Regions from separate parts of the Homo sapiens genome. Here all the other regions are linked to region 3. The links are contacts of gene promoters, found by promoter capture Hi-C in human tissues and cell types (Jung and others, 2019). All regions are on one chromosome and are shown on one strand. The core of a region is centred on a gene start or on the middle of the fragment in contact, and the rest is flanking DNA. Distances in the headings are between cores, read along the strand shown. Region 1 has its middle 65 kb from the start of MCM5. Region 2 overlaps LOC284912 (a long non-coding RNA gene). Region 3 holds the start of APOL2 (apolipoprotein L2).

Region 1 (3,459 bases), core at 140-2,639, 770 kb after region 3:
AACCCTATAGGAAAAATCCTAATAACCCAGTTTTAAAATGGGCAAAAGGCTGGGCACAGTGGCTCACGCCTGTAATCCTAGCACTTTGGGAGGCCAAGGCGGGCAGAACACAAGGGCAGGAGATAGAGGCCACCCTGGCCAACACGGTGAAACCCTGTCTCTCCTAAAAATACAAAAATTAGCTGGGCATGGTGGCGCACGCCTGTAATCCCAGCTACTTGGGAGGCTGAGGCAGGAGAGTCGCTTGAACCAGGGAGTTGGAGGTTGCAGTGAGCCGAGATCGTGCCACTGCACTCCAGCCTGGCGACAGAGGGAGACTCCGTCTCAAAAAAAAAAAAAAAAAAAAAGAATGAAATCCTGTCATTTGCAACAACATGGATGAAACTGGAGGTCATTATGTTAAGTGAAGCAAGCCGGGCACAGAAAGACGAACTTCACATGTTCTCACTTATTTGTGGGAGCTAAAAATTAAAACAATTGAACCATGGAGATAGAGAGTAGAATGATGGTTATACGCTGGGAAGGGTAGTTGGGGGGCAGGGGAAAGTAGGGATGGTTAATGGGTCCAAAAATATAGTAGAAAGAATGAATAAGGCCAGGCATGGTGGCTCACACCTATAATAGCAACACTTTGGGAGGCTGAGGCAGGAGGAATTTGTGAACCCAGGAGTTCAACACCAGCCTGGGAAACATAGTAAGACCCTGTCTCTGTAAAAAATAAACAAAATTAGCCGGACATGGTGGTGCACACCTATAGTCCCAGCTACTTGGGAGGCTGAAGTGGGAGGATTGCTTGGGCCCAGGAGGTCAAGGCTGCAGTGAGCCATGATCACAGCACTGTACTCCAGCCTACGTGACAGAACAAGACCCTGTCTCAGAAAAAAAGGAATGAATAAGATCTAGTATTTGATAGCACAGCAGGGTAATTATAGCCAATAATAATTTAATTGTACATTTCAAAATAACTAACAGTATAATTGGGTTGTTTGTAACACAAAGGATAAATGCTTGAGGTAATGGATATCTCATCTACCCAGTAAATATATACACCTACTATGTACCCATAAAAATTTTTTAATTTTTTTCAATAAATAATTTAAAAAGAAAGAGCGGCCAGATGGATGGCTCATGCCTGTAATCCCAGCACTTTGGGAAGCCGAGGCAGGAGGATCACTTGAGCCCAGAAGTTTGAGACCAGCCTGGGAAACATAGCAAGAACTTGTCCCTATAAAAATAAATATATTTTTAAATTAGCCAGGCATGACTTTGGGAGGCTGAGATGGATGGATCACTTGAGGTTGGGAGTTTGAGACCAGCCTGGCCAACACAGTGAAACCTCATCTCTACAAAAAATACAAAAATTAACCTGGCATGGTGGTGTGCGCCTGTAATCCTCAGCTACTTGGGAGGCTGAGGCAGAAGAATCACTTGAACCCGGGAGGTGGAGGTTGCAGTGAGCTGAGATCGCGCCACTGCACTCCAGCCTGGACATCAGAGCGAGACTCCATCTCAAAAACAAACAAACAAAAAAACTAGCCAGATGTGGTGGCACATGTCTGTAGGCCCAGCTACTGGAATCTGTAGTCCTAGGATCACTTGAGCCCAGGAGTTCAAGGTCGCAGTGAGCTACGATGGTCCCACTGCACTCTACCCTGGGCAACAGAGCAAGACCTTGTCTCAAATAAATAAATAAAAATAAAAGGAGAAAGACCTAACACACTGAGGAGGCCGAGAGGAGCCCTGGCCACCTCGGCACTCATAGGCCCAGAAGGTCAAACACCAGCCCTGGGCTCCTGGCCACAGCCCTGCAGTGCTACTCAGGACCGCAGGGAGGACACTGAACCATAGGAATTTGAACACCTGAAGCCAGTGTTCAAAGAGGCAGCAAGACCAGGCCCCAGAATGCACGGATGCTGGCCCCAGCCACGGCCCCTGTGAAAGCTGCAGGCCCTGGCATTCACCCCAGGCAGCTGGGGAGCAGGCTTCCCAGGACAGCCTGTCCACTGTCGATTGCCTCATCCAACCCAGCCACGCATCCAAATACTCCTAGGACCCAGTCCCTTTGCCCTGCAACCAGACATCCCTCTCATCTGCTTGGGACTCTCCACCTCACTGAGCCTTTGTCATGTGTGAGGTCCCAGCTGGGTTTCTTTTCATCCCAGATAAGAGGAAAGTGGGGTCTAGAAAGGCTGAGTACCTGCCCACAGTCCCCCAGCTGATACAGAAATAAGACCGAGGCCAAGCTCCTGACCGCCATTATCCCATTAATCTTCACATCAACCTTGACGGAAACACTGTGAGTGGTCTTATTTTATAGATGAGAAAAATGACACACAGAGAGGGTAAGTTGCCCAAAGTCACACGGTAGTAAAAGGCAGAGTTGGGACTCAAACCCAGGAGACTGGCTCCAGGATACCACTCTCAGCCACTATCCTCTTATCCCCCTGAAGAGGGCAAGCTGCCACTACCTCATGCCACTGCCTAAAGAGTGTGCTTGGAGACTTTTACTGTCCTTGGTGGTCCACTGTTACCCCAGGCACCATTCTGCTAATAGTTGAGTTGGCAGAGTGGAGTAGTTGAGGCAGTCCGTGGAAGAGTGTGACTCTCCAGTGTAACCCCAGCTACAAGGGCCTCGCTTGGTTTTGCCACAGCTGAGTGAGTTTAGGAAGTTACTTCACAGCCCTGTGCCTCCAGGGGCCACACCTGTTTAAGGGATGCTGGCAGCAGCCCTACCTCTAATTAGTCATAGGTATCCAGGGCACATAACTGCACCTGGTACAGGGCAAACCTCCCCCGCAGAAGTGTTAACCAGTGTTGTCCTCACTGGCATCATCATTACTGTGTGAGGGTGGGAACAAAATACAAAACAATATGGTCTCCCTACTGCCAGAATCCAAAATAATGATCACTCAACTTCCAGGTCTCAGCAATAGCTTCCTGCCACACATGGGGCAGCTGCTCTTGTCTTGTCAACTTGATCCCAACCAAGGGACAGGGCCTCACAGCTAGACCCTGGGCCTTGCCTTCTGCAATGACCATCAAGCATCTTTCTTGGAGCCCCTTCTTTGTCCTCTGTCTGTCCCTCTATTTCCTCTGCTGTTGAAAGGGTTGGGGCAGGAGAGCACTGGAAGATTTCAGACACTGCAGGTAGGGAAGGGGAGATGGTGAGACCAGCACCGAGATCTGGTCCCAGGGTGGACTTCCCCAAAGACAGCCAGACTTGCTGTTCTACCACTTGGTGTGCTAAAATAGAGTCTGTCTTCTTCTTGACCTAGAGCACTATTACAAAAGGCTACCTTCACCGGAGCAGGACACTGTCCTATAGCATTTTGTTTAAAGCAATTATTTAATTGTTGTCTTCCAGATGGATGAGAAGAGGGCCTGTGTTTCTCTTATTCATGGCTGTGCCTTCAGGGCCTGGCACACAGCAAAAGTGAGGATAGATGAATGGATGGATGG
Region 2 (3,706 bases), core at 24-2,523, 610 kb after region 3:
GACTCAAAGCTACTGGACCCAGACAGGCCAGTGGTATGTGCTTAGGGTGTGGCGCCCCAAGTGGTGGTGGTGAGGCTGGCATTGTCATGAACTTGGCCCTGAACTGAGCAATGGCAACGCAAGATAGATACAGTACCTGCCCTCGCCGGCCTCACAGCTCTTATTCACTCATCATGTAACAGGTAAAATTTTAAATCATTTCAACGCAGATGTTTTAAAAATGTGTTTTCTTTATTATCTATAATTGAGACCAATAGCCCATGTGTATTGAGTGCTTACTCCGTACGAGGTATAGTTTTAAGTATTATAAGTAGTTCAGATTTCACAACACCCTCTGAGGCAGGTTCTAATTACTGCTATTTGACAGATGGAGAAAGGAGGAACGGAGGGATTAAGTAACTTTCTCAAGGTCACACAGCAAGCAGTGAAACCAGGATTCAAATGCAGGTAGTCTAGCTCCGGAATCCACACCCTTGACCACTGTAAGACACTGCCTCTTGTTTTTAAGCTTCTCTCACTGCAGCGTGTCAGGGGGCAACTTAGATGAGCCAACAATGGCATCTTAGTCTTCCTGGTATATACTCAGTATTTCAGTTTCCTCCTTTGGCTACCTCCACACCTACTCCTCTCCAACATGGTGCTGGATAGATGGGAGGAGAGCAAAGGCGGGAAGATGGGCCCTTGGACAGGTGTGCAGATGCTGGGGCGTCCCCAGGTCCCTGCTCTCTGCTCCAGGATGACTGTTTTGTTCTGGGGACCTGGACGCCTGCTGAGGTGTACCTGGTCCACCGGGCCTTCTGTGGTCTTGTGCTGTCAAGTTCATGGCCAGGACCTTTTGCGTCTACGTGCTGAATCTTTGGGCTCAGAGCTCTTTTGTCTCAATTCCCAGTTTTCCAGGGACCACCAGCCACCTCCACAACTCCACCTCCCCTCAGCGGAGCACCCGGGAATGTCAGACCCTGCACGATACCCTCAATCCACGGGGAACCAGCAGGAAAAGCTCAGGCTTCTCTGCTTAGATACACTGTCTCCCTTCTCTCTTTCTTCCCTTAATGATAGGATCCCCAAGTTTTAGCTGTGCCATGGCCACATAGTTAAAGAGGCTTCCCAGCCTCCCTTGCAGCCGGCTTTACCATGTGACCACATTCCAGCCAGTGAGGACTGAGCTGAGTGTGGGCCTTCCCTTAGGAGGGGATGTGCCCTCCCTTCCCAGTCCTCCTTGCTGGCTGGGGCTGGAATGTGGATGTGTGGGTCGGGGCTGAGCAATGCCACAGGAAGAACCAGGGCTGCTTGGTGGAGCAGCCCCACAAGGCTTTTAAGCCTGGGACTGTTCCTTGAGAGAGAAAGACATTTATGTGTACTTGAACTTACCATTATTAGCCTTCAGAAGAGCTCCCCAAACTGTGTCGTATCCAGTTCTGTCCCAGGCCATCTTAGTGCTCGCACATCATGGGGGCAGGGTGGAGTGGGACTCCTTCTCCTCCTCCTCCTCCTCCCCTCCTCCTCCCCTCCTCCTCCTCCCCCCCTCCTCTTCTCCTTCCCCTCCGCCTCCTTCCCTCCTCCCCTGTTCCTCCTTCTCCCCTCTTCCTCCTCCTCCTCCCCTCTTCCTCCTCCTCTCCTCTCCCTCCTCTGCTCCCCCATCTCCAAACTAAGAAGGCCAAAGATCCCCCAGCGAGGCAAATCCCAGCTACCACATAAGCCACACAACTGTCTTTTGGCTTCCCCTGCGGGGTCGTGGTGACTAATTTTAACTGACCCTGATGATTCATCCAGGATGCCTGGGAACCCCCACCCCACCCCACAACCACAGCCACTCCTCAGGGCCTGCTGAGAGCCGCCAACATTCTTCAAGTTCAAAATCATTCCCCATGCCCTCCAAGCCTACATTCCAACTGCCTCCGTGACCCATCCTCTTCACAAAACTTCTGACCCAGCCAAACTGGTCTTCTCTGGGTTTTCTGAACATTCCACGTGCATTCCTGCTTCTCTAACTTTGCTCTTACCACCTTTCATGCCTCTATTGTGCCATCAACCCTCTCCCCAGCCCCTGGAACCTGCCCCAGCGCCTGTGTATTTGATCAGTGGTGATACAGCACTCACTTGAAAAAGTATTGAGCACCTATTATGTGCTGTGTGGAATATTAGGGTGCATTCTTTATATAAATATTTTATTCCCAGCTTCCCTTTCTCATCTTTCCACTAGATTATTATTATTATCTTGGGCCATGACTGGGCAGGCAATGCCGTACAGTCACCAAACCCTGTTTCATTTCCTCCTGGGCACACAGAGAGACCTCATTCCCACAACTCCCTCCAAGTAAGCGGTGCCTGTGGCTGTGATCTGGCTGATGGAATTTGGGCAGAAGCAATGAGCACCACTTTCAGGCATACCCCCTAAAACCCCTTACAAGATCCTCCACCCTTTTTTTTTTTTTTTTTTTGGGAGATGGAGTTTCACTCTTGTTGCCCAGGCTGGAGTACAGCGGCGTGACCTCGGCTCACTGCAACCTCCGCCTCCCGAGTTCAGGTGATTCTCCTGCCTCAGCCTCCCGAGTAGCTGGGATTACAGGCGCCCACCATGATGTCAGGCTTATTTTTGTATTTGTAGTAGAGACAGGATTTCACCATGTTGGCCAGGTTGGTCTCGAACTCCTGGCTTCCAGTGATCCACCCACCTCTGCCTCCCAAAGTGCTGAGATTTCAGGCGTGAGCCACCTTGCCCAGCCCACCCTCATTTCTTTCTCCAGCGGTTTGCCTGCTGGATGCAGAGGGATGGGGGTTTTGGAAGTCCTTGGGGAGGGAGCCTGAGTGCCTGAATCACTGGGTGCAGGAGAGCCCTCTTCTCAGCTTACATTGGACTGGGAGATAAATGAGAACGAAATCTTTTGAGCCATGGCTAAGGACACATCATGAGATTTGGGGGCTGTTTGTTACAGCAGCTAGTATGCTAACACACCAGTGTAGGCAGCCATATTTGTATTTCTGCCCTCACCCAAGCCTGGTACATAAGAAGCCCTTAGTAGTCCTCCTCATCTCCCATGAGGCTTTCTTCTCATCCACCCTTCAAATGCAGGCCTGACCCTGTCGTCCCCTCTAGGAAGTTTTCTTCCCCACCTCCTCTTCTTCTTCCCAATTCTGAAATGCTGCTGACCCCCGCAAGGGTCCTTCTCTTCCTCCCTCACATCCTCCCCAGGTGACGTCTGCTGCCTCCTCTACGCTGGCACTTCCTATAGCTTAGACTGTAACCCTCAGCCCGATGGGGTAAACTGAGGCTTCTCCAAATTGCCAGATAAATTCAGGATGTTTTGTGATGCAACTCTGGAAGGGGAACCCAATCCTGTGTTAGCAGAATAAGGATGGGGCATTGATTCCCAAGAAATGAGTCCAACTCACGCTAATGGGAAGAATAGCAATATCTCCTGAGGACCAAATGGGCTTTTTTTTTTCTTTTTTCTTTCTTTTTTTTTTTTTTTTTTTTTTTTTTGAGACAGAGTCTTGCTTTCTTGCCCAGGCTGGAGTGCAGTGGTGTGATCTTGGCTCACTGCAACCTCCGCCTTCCAGGTTCAAGCAATTCTCCTGCCTCAGCCTCCCAAGTAGCTGAGACTACAGGCACCCGCCACCACACCCGGCTAATTTTTTTTTTTTTTTTTTTTGTATTTTTAGTAGAGATGGGTTTTCACTGTGTTAGCCAGGATGGTTTCAATCT
Region 3 (3,340 bases), core at 44-2,543:
CCCAGAGGAGAAAAGTTATTATATAAAAAAGATACTCGCACATGCATGTTTATAGCTGCATAATTTGCAACCGAAAAAATATGGAACCAACCTAAATGCTCATCAGCCAACAAGTGGATGAAGAAAATGTGTGTGTATATACACACACACACACACACACACACACCCCTATATATGTATATGCCATGGAATATTACTCAGCTGTAAAAAGGAAGGGAATAATGGCATCCGTAACAATCTGGATGAAGTTGGACACCATTATTCTGAGTGAAGTAACTCAGGAATGGAAAACCAAATATTGTATGTTCTCATTTATTAGTAGGAGCTAAGCTATGAAGACACAAAGTCACAAGAAGGATACAATGGGCTGGGCGCCGTGGCTCACACCTGTAATCCCAGCACTTTGGGAGGCCAAGGCAGGTGGATCACTTGAGGTCAGGAGTTCAAGACCAGCCTGGCCAAGATGGTGAAACCCCATCTCTACTAAAATTACAAAAAATTAGCTGGGTGTAGTGGCAGGCACCTGTAATCCCAGCTACTCGGAAGCTGAGATGGGAGGATGGCTTGATTGTGCCACTTGAAGTAGCTATGATTGTGCCACTGCTCTCCAGCCTGGGCTACAGAGCAAGACTCTATATCAAAAACATAACAGAAAACATAACCTCAGAAGCATTACAATAAATATGCAATAAGCATCCACCCAGCATGTGTGGGGGACTGTGCTGATGCTGATGGCATGTGTGGGAGTAAGGCAGGCATCTGAGGAATGTGGGGGAACGGAAGGACGGGGAGTAATCTGGAGAGCCCCACGGTCAGTCAGTGGCAGGTCTTTCTTGAGCTCAGAAAGGTTAGGTAACTAGTTCAGATCAGACAGTAAAACAGGGGCAGAGCCTGGAATTGCACTGAGGCTTGAGTCTGACTTCTCTCCCCCACCTGCTGTGCCCTTAAACTGCAGAGATCGGGGCGGGGGTTGGGGGGCAAGCGGCTCAGATGGGTTCAAAAAACTCCCCAGGCTCAACTCTGGTTCTGACTGCCTGAGACATGGGCAGCTGACACAGCAGACCTTGAATCCTGAGGATGTGAGGCAGGTGGGTTGGATGAGAGGGACCCGGATGTCTGGTCTGCGGCTGCTCCTCTAAGTGCAGCAGCAAGGAGGCTGGGCCTGGACTGCAGGTGGTGCTGGGGAGCAGCGTGTTTACTGTGCTTGGTCATGAGCTGCTGGGAAGTTGTGACTTTCACTTTCCCTTTCGAATTCCAGGGTATATCTGGGAGGCCGGAGGACGTGTCTGGTTATTACACAGATGCACAGCTGGACGTGGGATCCACACAGCTCAGAACAGTTGGATCTTGCTCAGTCTCTGTCAGAGGAAGATCCCTTGGTAAGTTGGGGATAGTGTGATCTACCCCCATGTCCTTATTCTTGCAATAGCTCTATAAGGGAAGGATCATTCAGCTTTTGTAGATAAGCTCAGAGAGGTTAGGTAGCTGGTTCAGATCAGACAGGAAAGCAGTGGCAGAGCCGGGATTTGCACCCAGGCTTGAGTCTGATTGCTCCCTCCCTCCTGCTGGGCGGGTAAACTGTAGAGAGAGGTGGGGAAAACAGCTTAGATGGGTTCACAAAGCTCCCCGGGCTCAGCTCTGGTTCTGACACCCTCAGACACGGCCAGCTGACCCCAGAAGAAAGGTAGGTGTTGGGGGTGCCCATCTCTTTGGGAAATTTGAAGGAATCAAAGAAGGTGGAGGAGGGGAGGTGACCTGGAGCCCGGCATGTCCTTGTGGCCGGGCCACACCCAGGCTGGCCCCAGGGTGCTGCTGCTGAAGCCCAATGGGAACAACAGATTTCTTTTGAGACACAAGGAACTCAGAGGTTGTCTCACTCACCCTGAGTCTGAGCACCTACTTGTGCCAGGCCCTGTGGGGAAACTGAGGCCCTGGGAGGGGAATGACTTGCCAGGGTCCCGTGTCAGGAGGCTGAGCAGGCAGATCATAGGACTTCACGTCTCTGGCCCTCACCTCTGTCCCTCTGTTCAGACCTCTGAGCTGATAGAGAAGAAACAGGCTGTGCTGTGTCCCTAATGGGAAACATGGCTGAGACAGGGGAGTGAGAAGGTCGCATTGCAGAATGGTACCTGTGGCATGATGCCAGCTTTGCAATCATGAGATTCAAAAGCCACACTGTGGAATTGTGAGTATAACTACAGGAGTGAGAGCTTAGGTCTCTGTGTTTGTAGAAGCAGAATCAAACCTGGACACTGTTGGATTATTAAAATCACCCATTTTTGCTTCAATATCAGAGTCACAAGGGCAGATGTTGGCCTCCCCTCTGCCCTCCAAGAGCTGTGTGACTCTGGGCAAGTCACCTCCCCTCCCAGCCTAAGATTTTTCCCCTCTAAAAAACTTGATAGAGCTGCCAAAAGTCCATGAAATCAGGGGGGTAATTTCTGTGAAATATGAGTCATGGTCTTATTTGTTCTTCACCAAAAAGAGATGCCCATCAAGATAGAAAGAAAAATTAAATTCAATTTCTCAACTGAAAGTGAAACTGAAGCTGGGCCATGTCATCCAGAGGCTGGTTGCTTTTAGTTCAAGTAATGCCTCCTGCACCTGGGATTTCAGCCAGGCTGTGCCAGGGAGGGCGGAGGGCATCCAGGTCAGTCGTAGGGGGTGCAGCTGGGAACACAACAGTGTCCCCATTGAATGTTCAGAGTCTAAAGGGGAGACAGAGGCCCAAAGAGCCACATACAGGTAGAGCTCCCTCTGGAAAGCAGAGTGCTCAGGGAGCCTGGGGAGGGTTGGGGGCCGCCGCATGGACCAGGCAGCTTTGGGTGGGTCTCTGAGGACAGGTGACTTGCACATGGTGGGGACAGTGGGGGGGACATTCCAGGGCGAGGGAGCAGCTGAGTGAAGGCCTGAGGCTGGGGATGGGAGTGGGAGGAGTAGATGGGCTCCAGGAGGCACCGAAGCAGGGCGTCAGTGGGTGCCTGGACCTAAGGTGACTGTGGTGGCAGGGAGCGGTGAGGAAGGTGGGGTCCAGAGCATCAGAGGGCCTGTGTGCCCTGCTATGGGGTTTGAACTTGACCGTGGCTTTTCACTGAAGATTCCTCAGAAGGGTGCAGTGCCACGGCTGAGGCCTGTAATTCAGTGCTGTGGGAGGCAGAGGCGGGAGAATCACATGATGCTAGGAGCTCAAGACAGCTTGGGCAACACAGGAGATGCTGTCTCTCTGAAATGAAAAATTAACAAATTAGTCCTGCATGGTGCCGTGTGCCTGTAGTCCCAGCTACCTGGAAGGCTGAGGCAGAAGGATCACTTGAGCCCAGGGGCTCTAGGCTACAGCAAG

What was found. The method cuts DNA at HindIII sites, captures the fragments that hold promoters and counts their contacts. A contact is called where the count stands out against the background at its distance.
Region 1: a fragment that was not itself captured here is called in contact with the fragment with the promoter of APOL2 in region 3 in 1 of the 25 tissues and cell types used here (dorsolateral prefrontal cortex).
Region 2: a contact is called between a fragment that was not itself captured here and the fragment with the promoter of APOL2 in region 3, in 1 of the 25 tissues and cell types used here (H1 embryonic stem cells).

The regions. Positions count from the first base shown.
Region 1 is chr22:35,463,856-35,467,314 of GRCh38, reverse strand. No RefSeq gene overlaps it. Among named protein-coding and RNA genes, the nearest start is that of MCM5, 65 kb to the right of the region's middle. The HindIII fragment of the contact is 6,473 bases long and covers 1-3,459 here.
Region 2 is chr22:35,628,155-35,631,860 of GRCh38, reverse strand. It overlaps LOC284912 (a long non-coding RNA gene), which reads left to right. Exons shown (of 4, transcript XR_001755514.1): 3 at 368-447. Among named protein-coding and RNA genes, the nearest start is that of MB, 13 kb to the right of the region's middle. The HindIII fragment of the contact is 7,418 bases long and covers 1-3,706 here.
Region 3 is chr22:36,237,480-36,240,819 of GRCh38, reverse strand. It overlaps APOL2 (apolipoprotein L2), which reads left to right and starts at 1,293. Exons shown (of 5, transcript NM_030882.4): 1 at 1,293-1,379. RefSeq lists enhancers at 1,005-1,054, 1,065-1,314, 1,852-2,366. The HindIII fragment of the contact is 12,319 bases long and covers 1-3,340 here.